2 separate regions of the Homo sapiens genome follow, and region 1 is linked to region 2. Evidence: promoter capture Hi-C in 16 types of primary human blood cells and fetal thymus (Javierre and others, 2016). All regions are on one chromosome and are shown on one strand. The core of a region is centred on a gene start or on the middle of the fragment in contact, and the rest is flanking DNA. Distances in the headings are between cores, read along the strand shown. Region 1 has its middle 10 kb from the start of PNMA5. Region 2 holds the start of MAGEA1 (MAGE family member A1).

Region 1 (6,449 bases), core at 2,436-4,935, 180 kb after region 2:
TTCCCAAATAGCCCCATGTGCATGCACCATAGAAGAGTTCTTTGAATCAGTGTAAATGTTTATCTTCTTAATTTTTCCTCAGTGAAGAGCACGGTTGAGGCATTCTGGGCTGACGTTACCTGGTGGCAGTGCTTCAGCTTCTTATAATATCTTGCAAAATTATCACTGCATATCCCACTTTCCAGTTTCCCTGGTCCATGAAGCTGCTTATATCCGTGGACATTTATAGATCTGTTTTTCCCAAGGGCACACCTGTTTGTCAGAGTGGCTGGAATAGACTTGTTCAATAATTTGTAAACAGTTATGCCTAGGTTCCACTGATGGGTTTGGAAACAGAGTCGTGGGGTTTAAGGTGGACCGTTTTTAGCATCACATTAGGATTATCCTAGAAAATTCCTTGGTTTTTTTTCCACATCTGGCCTGAAGTAAACCAATAACCACCTTTCTACTCTAATAATGGTAACACACAATGTGGGGTATGCAAGATTGTGGACTGCCCCCAAGGTGAATTTTTCAGCTTCTTGCAGTAAGTTACAGGTGGTGGTCACTGCCCTATGGCACACTGGCTACCCCTGGGTTATGATGTCCAAAGTGTCTGAAAAGTACTATACAGGATGCTTGGTGTCTCCTAGATTTTGGGTAAACACTTGCAACCATATTCCTTGTCTTTTGTGCACAAATAGATCCAACGGCTTTTTGAAGTCTGGCATCCCTAAAGCCAGAGTTGCTAACAATTTCTCTTTTACCAACTGAAAGCCTTTTTGAGATTTGGCAGACCATACTAGAGGCCCATCCTTCATTCCCTTCAGCATGCTATACAGAGATTTTTTCCATCAACCTGAAATTAGGAATCTATATAAGGCAAAATTCAGCCATTCCTAAAAACCCTCATAATTGTCTTTTGGTGGATGGCATAGCTATGGCTACTGCTCCCCAGCAGTTGGGGAGTAAATTCCTCTGTCCTTTAGTTAAGTCAAATCCTAGATACCTTTCCAAGGGTTGAGAAGTTTGTACTTTCTTTTGGGATACCTTGTACCTTCACTCAGCCAGGAAATTTAAGATGGTTATGTTATTTTCATCTGAACTTTACTTTATTTGCTATCAATGTGCCATCTACATATTGGAAGATAGCCCCCTCTTGTAACTGGAGTTCCCCAAAAAAGATGAGGGAGTTTTTGAATCCTTGTGGCAACAGTCCAGCAACATTGGTGCTTGCTCTTTGTTTCTGGATCTTCCCATTCCAAAGCAAAGAGTTCTTGAGATTCAAGACTTGGGGAATGGAGGAAAAATGCATCTTTTAAGTCTAATACTGTGAACTAACAGAAGTCTCCTGACAAGATAGTCAGCAAGGTGTAAGGGTTTGTAACAACTAGGTAACCTCCTCTACTATTTAGCTTTTTAATAGGTAAGATGGGAGTATTGTATGGAGAGCTACATGGCCTGATGAGCTGGAACTCTGGAAAGGCAATGATTAAAGGCCAAATCCCCCTTTTAATCTGTTCCTTTAGGGGATATAGTTTTGAGTTTGGAGTTTTTGCTTCTGGTTTTAGCTTCATCTATACTGGTATAGCAGGGATATAGTTTGGATGTCCCCTACAAATCTCATGTTGAGATGTAATCCCCAGTGTTGGAGGTGGGGCCTGGTGGGAGGTGTTTGGGTCATGGGGTGGAATCCTCATGGCTTGGTGCTGTTTTGTGATAGTGAGTAAGTTCTCACAAGACCTGGATGTTTAGAAGTGTGTGGCACCTTCCCTGCTCTCTCTCTCTCTTGCTCCTGCTCTCACCTGCTTCCACTTTAGCTTCAAACATGAATTAAAGCTGCCTGAGGCCTCCCCAGAAGCCAAGTGGATGCTGACACCATGCTTCCTGTACAGCATGCAGAACTGTGAGCCAATTAAACCTATTTTCTTTATAAATTACCCAGTGTCCAGTATTTCTTTGTAGCAACACAACAATGGTCTAACACAGAAAATTGGTACTGAGGAGTTGGGCATTGCTATAGATATCTGAAAATGTGGAAGCAGCTTTGGAGCTGGGTAACAGGCAGAGGTTGGAAGGGTTTGGAGGTCTCAGAAGAAGACAGGAAAAAAGTTCCAAGAAATCTTGGAAATTCTTAGGGACTGGCTAGATGGTGGTAACAAAAATACTGATAGTGATATGGATAGTGAAGTCCAGGCTGACAAAGTCTCAAATGGAAATGAGGAACTTTTTGGTAACTGAAGCAAAGGTCATCCTTGTAATGCCTTAGCAAAGAACTTGGCTGTATTCTGTCATGCCCTAGGGATCTGTGGAAGTTTGAACTTAAGAGTGACAACCTAGGGTATCTGACAGAGAAAATTCTTACGCATCAAAGTGTTCAAGAGGTGGTCTAACTGCTTGTAACAGCCTATGCGCAGATGCAGGAACAAAGAAATAACTTAAAGTTGGGAATTATATTTATAGAAGAAGCAGAGCATAAAGTTTGGAAAATTTGCAGCCTAGCCATCTGGCAAAGAAAGAAAAAGCTTTTTCAGGGGAAGAATCCAAGAAGGCTGTGGTGTAACCACTTTCTAGAGATATTAGCCTGATTAAAAGCAAACAATGTCCTGATAGCCAAGACAATGGGGGAAAGACCTTGAAGGCATTTCGGAGATCTCTGAGGCAGCCCCTCCCATCACAGGCCAAAAGGCTTAGGAGGGAAGAATGGTTTCAAGGGTCAGGCCTGGGATGCCACTGCCCTGCTCAGCCTTGTGACACTGCTCCTTGCATCCCAGCTGCTCTGGCTCTAGCTCCAGCTCAAATGGGCCCAAGTACAGTTTGGGCCTCCACTCCAGAGGGCACAAGCCATAAGCCTTGGCAGTTTCAACATGGTGTTAAGCCTGCAGGTGTACAGAGTATAAGGGTGAAGAAGGCTTGACAGCCTCCGCTTAGATTTCAGAAGATGCATGGAAAAGCCTGGGTCTCCAGCCAGACACTTCCTGCAGGGGTGGAGCCCTCACAGAGAACCTCCACTAGGGCAGTGCAGGGGGAAAATGTAGGGTTTAAGCACCGCCCACAGAGTCTCCAATGGGGCACTGGGTAGTGGAGCTGTGGGAAGAGTTCACTGTCCTCCAAATGCCAGAATGGTAGATCCACTAGCAGCTTGCACTCTGCACCAGGAAAAGTTACAGGTACTCAATGCCAGCTTGTGAGAGCAGGCTCAGAAGCTGAGCCCTGCAAAGCCACAGGGTCAGAGCTGCCCAAGGCCCTGGGAGCCCATCCCCTGCAGAAGCATGCCCTGGATGTGAGACATGGAGTCAAAGGAGACTGTTTTGAAGTTTTAAGATTCAATGACTGCCCTGCTGAGTTTCAGACTTGGGTGGCGCCTGTAGCACCTTTCTTTTGGAATGAGAATGTTTACCCAGTGCTTGTATCTCCATTGTATCTTGGAAGTAAATAACCCATTTTGATTTTACAGGCTTCTAGGTGGAAAGAACTTATTTCCAGATAAGACTTTGGACTGGGGACTTGGGACTTTTGAGTTGTGCAACCGCCCAAGGGGTTCACCTTGCCTGCTGCCTAGACACAGCTTATTTATCAAGACAGGGGAATTGCAATGGAGAAAGTAATTCACACAGAGCCAGCTATGCAGGAGACTAAAGTTTTATTATTACTCAAATAAGTCTCCCCGACTATTCGGGGATCAGAGTTTTTAAAGATAATTTGGTGGGTAGGGGCTTGAGAAGTGGGAAGTGCTGATTGGTCAGGATGGACATGGAATCATGGAGAGTTGAAGTGAGTTTTTCTTGCTGTTTTCTATTCCTGGATGGGATGGAAGAACTGATTGAGCCAGATTACTGGTCTAGGTGGTGTCAGCTGATCCATCAAGCGCAGGGGCTGCAAAATACCTCAAGCACTGATCTTAGGTTTTACAGCATTGATGTTATCCTCAGGAGCAATTTGGGGAGGTTCAGACTCTAGTAGCCAGAGGCTACCTGTCCCCTAAAATGTAATTTCTAATCTTCTATCTAATTTGTTAGTCCTGCAAAGGCATACTTGTCCCCAGGCAAGAATGGGGTCTTTTTGGAAAATGTCTGTTATCAATTTTGTTTCAGAGTCAAACCATAAATTGAATTCCTTCCCAAAGTTAGTTTGGCCTATGCCCAGTAATGAACAAGGACAAAGGTTAGAAGCAATATGGGGTTGGTTAGGTCTGATTTCTTTCACTGTCATAATTTCTTCAGTTATAATTTTGCAAAGGCAGTTTCATTAATGCTGGAATGTGTTAAGACTTTGGAGGACTATTGGGATGAGATTATTGTATTTCACAGTATGAGAAGGACATGAGATTTGTGGGGGCAGGGGAGAATGACATAGTTTGGACATGCCCTCCAAATCTCATGTTGAGATACAATCCCCAATGTTGAAGGTTGGGCCTGATGGGAAAGGTTTGGATCATGGGGGTGGATCTCTCATGGCTTGGTGCTGTCCTCATGATAGTGAGTTCTCACAAGATCTGGTTGTTTAAAATTGTGTGGCACCCTCTCTCCTCCATCTCTCTCTTGCTCCTGCTTTTGCCATATGATGTGCCTGCTCCTGCTTTGCCTTCCATCATGAGTAAAAGCTCCCTGAGGCCTCCCCAGAAGCTGAGCAAATGCCAGCACTATGCTTCCTGTACAACCTGCAGAACACTGAGCCCATTAAAGCTCATTTCTTTATAAATACCTAGTCTCAGGTATTTCTTTATAGCAATGCAAGAATGGCCTTAACACAAGCAGTCTTAGCCCTTCCCAGCCTCCCATCAGCCCAAGCATCTGGGCTTATCTGCTTTAAGATGTTCTCCATAATATTGATGGTGTGTTTTTCTGCTCTGTGGTCATAAAGGGCATTTGGGAGTGCACAAGCTTGTTCTGGTGGCACCTCAATTTTCCCAAAGCAAAGGTTACTGTGGCAATTAACTTAGTTAACAAGTCCTGTCCCAGTGAAGGGATTGGGCATTCTGGCATGTACAAGAAACTATGCTTTAGTTTGACTGTGCCCACTTGGTAGTCCATAGGTTGTAAAAAGGACTTTTTCATAAGTGTTCCAGACACCCCATGATAGTCATAGTATTGGGTGACAATTTTGTTATTTTGATATTTAGGACTGTATTAGTCTGTTTTCATGCTGCTGATGAAGACATACCCAAGACTGGGCAATTTACAAAAGAAAGAGGTTTAATGGATTTACTATTGCACATGGCTGGGGAAGCCTCACAATCATGGCAGAAGGCAAAGAGGAGCAAGTCACGTCTTACATGGATGGCAGCAGGCAAAGAGATGGCAGCAGGCAAAGAGAGAGAGAGCTTGTGCAGGGAAAACCCCATGATTCAATTATTTCCCACCAGGTCCTTCCCACAACACATGGGAAATATGGGAGCTACAAGATGAGATTTAGGTGGGGACACAGAGCCAAACCATGTCAAGGAAGGAGTACGTGGCTCCAATATCAATCAAGAAATCAACTTGTCTTTTTCCCACCAAAGAGTTACCCAGGGTTCCAGGCAGGAGATGGGGATGCAGCCTCATCCACCTATTGTACCCCCTGAGACCCCATCACTCTCTTGGATACCTCTGACAAAAGTAAAGCCTTTTCTTCTTTCCCCTGGGATTGCCTTTTTAAACTCAGGAAGTCCTTTTCCAATGGTCCTCTTGTTTACAATATGCACAATGCTTGGGCCCCATCTATGGATCGCCTTTCTGGAGGCCTTTCTTGTTTCCAGGGGTGTCTACCTTCTCATTGGGCTTCTTTACTTCAAGTGCTGTGAACAGAGCAGCAACCAACAAAGATGCCTGTTTTTCCATCCTCTGTTGCTCTTTATGATCCAATGCTTGATCTCAGTTTTTGAACACCTTAAAAGCAATCTATACAGTTAAGAGATAGACATTCCAAAAACACTTTCTAATTTTTATAGCTTTTTCTGAATGCCAGGAGTGCTTTGACTAATAAAAGTTATGTTAATTAATCTGAGGTTCTCAGGGGCCTCAGGATCTATCTCAGTTGACATTGCCAGGAGGCTTCAAAAATTATCTCCAAAAACTTTCAGATGAGTTTTCATTTGGCCTCTGTCACATTTCCTGAAATTTATTAAAGCTACACTACTTTGAGACCCCTTTCCTCAGGACTGCTAAAATTCAATCTCTTTAATGCTTGCAATGAGCTTGACTCTCATGATTTGGATCCTATCAGGATCTTGCACATGCCAGAATGCCCAGTCCCTTCGTTGGGACAGGACGTGTTAACTAAGTTAATTGCCACAGTAACCTTTGCTCTGGGAAAATTGGACATTGAGGTGCCACCAGAACAAGCATGTGAGCTCCAAGATGCCCTTTTTGACCACGGAGCAGGAAAACACACCACCAATATTATTGAGAACATCTTAAAGCCCAGACACTTGGGCCAATGGGAGGCTGGGAGGAGCTAAGACTGCTTGTGTTAGGCTATAGCCTCAG
Region 2 (6,635 bases), core at 1,360-3,859:
CAGCCCTGGCTTCTCAGTGCTACCAGGAGGGTGGGCTGGACTCTGTGACATCCCCACTCTCATGCAGTGGATGACCCCCTCTGTTCTCACGCAGGGCCCTTATATTTTTCCTGGCAGGGCCTGGATCCTGCCCTTTTGCTGGTCTGAGAAATCCAAATCAAGAGTTCACATCCATGATAAGGAATGGAAGGACAGGAGGGGACAAACATCTGGCCACACGTGCCTAGGTCCTTGGGGAAGGGCAGCAAGAGATATCAAAATTCATTGGAATTAATGTGTCCTGGGTGAGGTGCCCGCTTGGTCCTCACCTTGACTCCTGGCAGGGCCTGGGACGCTCCCTCTACTGACCTGAGCGCAGCCTTCTCAGACCAAGGCCTCCCCGTCCCTGACATCAATGATCCCAGGATAACGGAAGGACCTCGGCAGACGGCCCAGCCCATGCTCTCTGGGGTGACAGCAGGGGCAGGGCTGATTTCTGTGCAGTCTCCCTCAGTGTTCTGGTCCTGGGGTACCCTCAGTCCTCCCTCATGTTCCTCACCCGAACGCATGGCAGATCCTGGGACCGCTCTGTCTTTAGACCAGATGGGGGTCCCTACGTTGACCTGAGTCACCCTCTGAGAATGAGGTCCTCACCTGCCCCAGATCTGGAAACAGGAGTGAAAAGAAGCCACATCCTGGGTGAGGTGTCCAGGGCTGACCCCTTTGGTTCTGGGGTGAGGATTCCAATAGCCTTGTCTGTCTCACTCATCTTTATTCCTGCCAGCGCCTGTGCTTCCTCAACCCCCAATTCCCTGACATGAGTAGACATCCCCCCTTTACCCCAAGACCCCATCTCCCTGAGGGCCCCCCAACTTCCTGCCTGTGGTACAAGTGAGAATGGAACATACCGCCATCCCTGATCTGGTCCCCCTAGAGCTACTAAAAGGGGACAGCCAGACTGTGTGGAGTCCCTTCTTTCTGAGCCGGGGATATCCCCAGTCCTCATGAAGGGGGCACATCTTGGGCCATATGGATCCTGGAACTCCTCCCTCTGTTGACCTGAGGCCCCACTTCTCAGACCACAGCTCTGTCCTGTCACCTCAAAGATGCAGGAAATATGGGCCATATGTGGCCACCGTGCCCTGGACCTCTCAGGGCCGAGGTCCACACTGATCTGGATTCCAAGGTCCCCTGAGTCCTCCCTCCTCTTCCTCCGCGTAAGCCTTGCAGGCCTGGGTCCCACCCCCATGCTAATCTGAGTCCCCATCATTCTGATTCTTGAGGCCAGAAGTGGCAGCCTCAGTCTCAGACAGGGGTGCGGTGTCCTAGGGTGCTGGGTCCTCTGAGGCCTCCCTCATCTCGCAGTAGGGCCCTCCCTCTGCTCCCCTGAGGCCCTGTTCAAGCCCCTTCCCTCCATCAGCCCTGGATGGGGACGTCAAGATCCGAGTGCCTGGCCGCCATTCCCGTGGCTTCCGTGGGTTGACAGCAGGGATTCTGACAAGATGAGGTTGGGGGTAGGGGGTAGGTATGGGAATGTGAGTGGGGTGGCGGTGGAGATGAGGAGACAGGTGTGGGTGGGGAACCCTCAGTTCCCTCCCAGGGTCCTGACCCTAATGCCGGGCGGATGCCTGGACCTTGATGCCTGGGCCCTGCCCTCTCCTGACCAACCCTGCCCCGGTCACATAAGCTATGACTACAGATTGCCCTGTGGGTTAAGTGGCAGTGGGACGGGACGGGGGGTGGTCCAGCTGAGACATCTGTCCTGGCCGGGTGGTCCAGGGCTGGCAGCAGGGGTGGTACTGGATCATTTTGGGGCCATCTACCTGGGGTGTGTGCCTCCTCAGTCCTCCCTCAGCATCTCACCTTGCCTCCTCACAGAGCCTAAAACCACTCCCCTCAGTGGATCTCAAGCCGCCCCTCAGAACCATTAAATGAACCTGGCTTCTCTCAGATCTGTGAGGTTCAAGTCAGTGGTTTCACATCGGGCCATCCAGGGCTTCCCTGGGTTGAGAGCAGGGGCAAACCGGATTCTGCCAGAATGGGGGAGGCGATGGGAGTGGGGCACATGAGAGAGATGAGGGTGGGGTTGGGGGCAGTGAGGGTGAGGTGGCAGAAGGGTTGGGGCTGGTGCTGGGGCTGGAGGGTGGTGGTCAGGTGACGGAGTAGGAGTAGGGATGGGGGTGGAGGTGTAGCTGAGGAGATGGGGGTTGGGTGGGGAATGGGAATGCGAATGGGGTGGGAGTGGGGATTGGAGTGCAGTCTTGGGGGCCCACAGCCCTCCCTCTTGGGTGCTGATCTTGATGCCTGGCAGAGCCTGTGCCCTGCCCTCTCCTAACCAGTCCTGCCCTGGTCACAGCAACCTCTGATTCCAGAGCTTGGGGAGAAGAACCTGGTGTCTCTCAAGGCTTTTGGAGCAGGGGTCTGGGGGCAGCCCAGGCTGAGACGTCTTCCCGCGGGTGGGCCAGGGCTGGCAGCAAGGGCGGCGCTGGAATATTTGGGGCTCTCTATTTGGAGTGGCGGGGTCCTCAGTCCTCCCTCAGCCTCTCACCTTGCCTCCTCACAGAGCCTGGGTCAGGTTCCTTCGGCCGAACTCTACGCCGTCCCTCAGAATGGAAACCTCGCTTCTCTCTGCCCCACAATGCGCAAGTCAGTGGCGTCACATCCGGGCACCCGGATGTTTCCTGGCGGGAACCGGATCCTGCCTGGGTGGGGGTGGGAGTGGGCGTGGGGGTGGGGGTGGGGGTGAGGGTGGAATGGCTGGGCGGATGGGCATCAGGGTTGAGGGATGGGGTGGGGGATGTGGGGTGGGGGTTGGAATGACAATGAAGAGGGGGTTGGGTCACGGGAGTGAGCATTGGAGTGGGGGTTGGGTCACGGGAGTGGGGTCTTAGGGACCCTCAGCCCTCCTTGAGAATCCTGAGCATGATGTCTGGCAGAGCCTGGACGCTGCCCTCTCCTAAGCAGCCCTTCCCTGATCACACGAGCTCTGACTTCAGAGTCCCCAGTGGTTTAAGCAGCAAGGGGGCTGGGGGTGGCCCAGCCTGAGAAGTCCACCACCAGATGGTCCAGGACTGGCATGAAGGGATTATTTGGGGTCCTCTATCTGGGGTAAGTGGGTCCTCAGTCCTCCCTCAGCATGTCACCTTGCCTCCTTACAGAGCCTGGGCCCGCTTCCCTCCACCGATCTCAAGCCGCCCCTCAGACCGAAAACCTCGCTTCTCTCTAACCACTAATGCTCAAGTCAGTGGCGTCACATCTGGGCACCTGGGCTTCCCTGGGTTGAGAGCAGGGGTGGAACCGGATTCTGCCTGGCTTGGGCTGGGGGTGAGCGTGAAGATGTTTGGATGGGTGGCGTAAAGGGAGGGATTGGGGGTGGTAGGGGGAGGGATGCCAGTGGTGCCCCGGGGCTTAAGTCGTCGTGTTGGTGGTAGTGGGGTTGGGCGTGGGGTTGGGGGACCCTCGGTCACCCCTCAGGGTCCTGACTTTCATGCCTGGCAGAATCTGGACACCCATATTCTCTGCCGATTGTGTCTGCTTCTCTCCCACCAAGTCTCTGGCCCCCAGTCCCATGAGGTGGCAATGGGAGGGGGGGTGTGGTCGTGGTAACATTGCCAGGGTCTTCCAGGGCTGACAGGAGGGGCTGAGCTGCATTCTGTGGCCCATCTACGTCGGGAGAGTGGACCCTCTGTCCCCACTCAGGAAGGTCCTCCTCCCGGCTCCTGGCACTTTGTTGAAGTCATGGGCGGGAGATGCTGTTTCTGCCATCTCTGAGCATTTGCCCAGCTGCACCCATTGCAGAGAATGGCTGCAGGTCCCAGGCCAGGTGCTCCCTGCAGAGTGGCAGCTCCCGCGATTGTAGTGACCTCTGGGAGAAGACGCACACCTTCCCACGGGGGCTTCTCTCCAGCCAGAGCTACACTTGGCAAACCTTTTGTCCTCAAAGTAATATGTTTTACTCCCAGGCACGGTGGTTCACGCCTGTAATCCCAACAGTTTGAGAGGCCGAGGCGGGCAGATCACTTGAGGTCAGGGGTTCAAGACCAGCCTGGCCAACATGGTGAAACCCCGTCTCTACACAAAATACAAAAATTAGCTGGGTGTGGTAGTGCTCAGGAGGCTGAGGCGTGAGAATCGCTTGCACCTGGAGGCGGAGTTTGCAGTGAGGCGAGATCGTGCCATTGAACTCTAGCGTGGGCCTCGCGACAGAGTGACACTCTGTCTCAAAAAATTTAAAAAATGAAAAAGAAATACACTTTTCGTATCTTCCAAGGATATATGTAGGTAGCTGTATATATATATGTATTTATTTCTAGGAAAGAATACCTACCAGTAGTATGCATGATTCACTCTTATATCCTATTCTACTTCTTTTCCATTCTTTACGTTCTGTTGAAATAATTTTTTTTGAAACACAATTTCTCACCCACTATGTTGGTGTCTGGTTGTTATTAGTGGAACTCTTGATCCATACTGTCTTAACCAGCCCTGTTTAACTGGTGTCCTGCTGTTGCCCTAGGGCTACTAGCATCATGTTTTGAGGAGCTGCCTCAGACTGTGTAATGATGTGAAGTGGAAATTTGAAAACTTTCATTGTAACCATTTTGTCAACTGCAGTCTAGGCAGGGTACAGACCTCCCCAGTATCCCTGCTGCCACCCCCCCTCCAACCGAGACTGCAAGTGTCAAACACAATTACCAGTTCAACCATCTTCAGCATCACCCAGGGCTTTCTCTATTTTGTTGCTTAGACTTTGTTGCTGATATTGTGTCTTTCTCCTTCTTTTTCCCTTCTATAATTTTCCAGGGTTGATTTGTGAAGCAGAGAACAGCAGCCCAAATTTGATTGTCACGTTGGCAGCCACAGGTAAGACATAATTTGTACATAATTGTACATAATTGAAGCACATTTGACATTTTTACAGTGTTCTCTTTCTCATCAATGAATATGCTATGCTCCTCTATAATATGTGTGTGTGAGTGTGTGTATATATATATATATATATATAGAGAGAGAGAGAGAGAGAGAGAAAGATGGCATCTCCCTCTGTCTACCAGGCTGGAGTGCAGTGGCACTATCTCGGCTCACTGTAATCTCCACCTCCCAAGTTCAAGTGATTCTCCTACCTTAGCCTACTGAGTAGCTGGGATTACAGGTGCATGGCACCATACCCAGCTAATTTTTGTATTTTTAGTAGAGATGGGGTTTCAACATATTGGCCAGGTGTGTCTGGAACTCCTGACCTCAGGTGATCTGCCCGCCTCAGCCTCCCAAAATACTGGGATTACAGGCATGAGCCATCGCACCCAGCCTCATGTATTAATTTCAAACTCCTTTTACTTGAATCTGTCAGTATACTGTGATTGTTGCCTCTATAAAGACCTTCTGCATTTTTACTAGGCTTCTTTTCAGGTAATTCTTGGATTTTGATGCTATTGAAAAAGGCATATTGTATATTAAGTGTTCTAGTTACTGATTGCTTTCATCTGGCAAAGATTTTGATTTTGCTATTATAATCTGTTGTATACCTCATTCTGAAGGCCCATTCACTTGAATCTTCCACATGCCTACTCCTTTGAATTTTCAAGACTGATCATGTTATCACTAAACATTATATATTTTTTCCACTATTCATACTCCTTATTTATGTTGATATTTATAGCTCTGACTTTGTGTCTCAATACTGATTTAAAAGCTGGAGATAATACCTTACATCTAATTATTTTTCCTCTCTTTAATAATAAGTCCTCGAACATTTAGCATTTATGTATGTTTGCTGTTGATTTTAGTAAATGGAAATTCTCTTTCAAAAGAAGTTAACTAAATATGTTTACTTTGAACTCATATTGAATTTCCTTCAAAAGCTTTTCCTATACCCAGTGATATGAGCACTTATCTTTTTCTTCTCCATTTTGTATGTAAGGAATTACAATGAAATACGTTTCTTTTTTGTAACAATAAATCATATTTTCTTTCCTTGGGCAGAGCCTGTTTGTTCATTTAATATGCTACTAACTTATGTAGGATATGTGGTGTTATGTATGAGAGCTTCCTTGATGTGTTTTTGTCCATGGGTGGGGGTGGTCCTCATCTGGTTTTTGTATCCAAGAGGGCAAGTCTGGGAGAAGGAATTGAACGATAGTCTATATTTTGTATGCCTTGGAAGAGTTGAGGTAAGATGGTAGTTAGTTTTTCCTGATCATTTTGTTCAATCGGCCTCCAAGACTGCCTAGACTGGAACATTTGAGGGTGGCTTGAGCTATGAATATTGTACCATTTCTGTTTGTATAGTTTAAGTTTTCTTTTCCTTTTTGGACCAATTTGGAAATGTATTTATTTTATTTCTGCAAAGTGTTCAGTTTCACATAGGATTTCACTTTAAACGGTGTGAAATTTGCGATAAAAACTTTTTCTTAGGGAGCGCCTCAAAAACCTTGAATAATAGAATAACATAATGAAACCAGAACACCTGTCACTCAGCATCAACAACCTTCAATACATGTCATATCTGGTTCCAGTTTGAGGCTCACCTACTTGTATCTCAGCTGCTGGAATAATGTGGAGCAAATCTAAGACATCATTCCATTTCATCTCTAAATACTTCAATATGTTTTTCTAAAAGTTAAGAACTTTATGTTAACTAAAATCCCAATACAGTT

Evidence for each region. Contacts are between HindIII fragments. The CHiCAGO score rates a contact against its expected background, and 5 or more counts as called.
Region 1: a contact is called between a fragment that was not itself captured here and the fragment with the promoter of MAGEA1 in region 2, in 1 of 17 cell types (activated CD4 T cells). The highest score is 5.9, in activated CD4 T cells.

The regions. Positions count from the first base shown.
Region 1 is chrX:153,001,207-153,007,655 of GRCh38, reverse strand. No RefSeq gene overlaps it. Among named protein-coding and RNA genes, the nearest start is that of PNMA5, 10 kb to the right of the region's middle. The HindIII fragment of the contact is 2,358 bases long and covers 2,507-4,864 here.
Region 2 is chrX:153,175,258-153,181,892 of GRCh38, reverse strand. MAGEA1 (MAGE family member A1) reads right to left here and starts at 2,609. Exons shown (of 3, transcript NM_004988.5): 1 at 2,528-2,609. The HindIII fragment of the contact is 9,739 bases long and covers 1-5,838 here.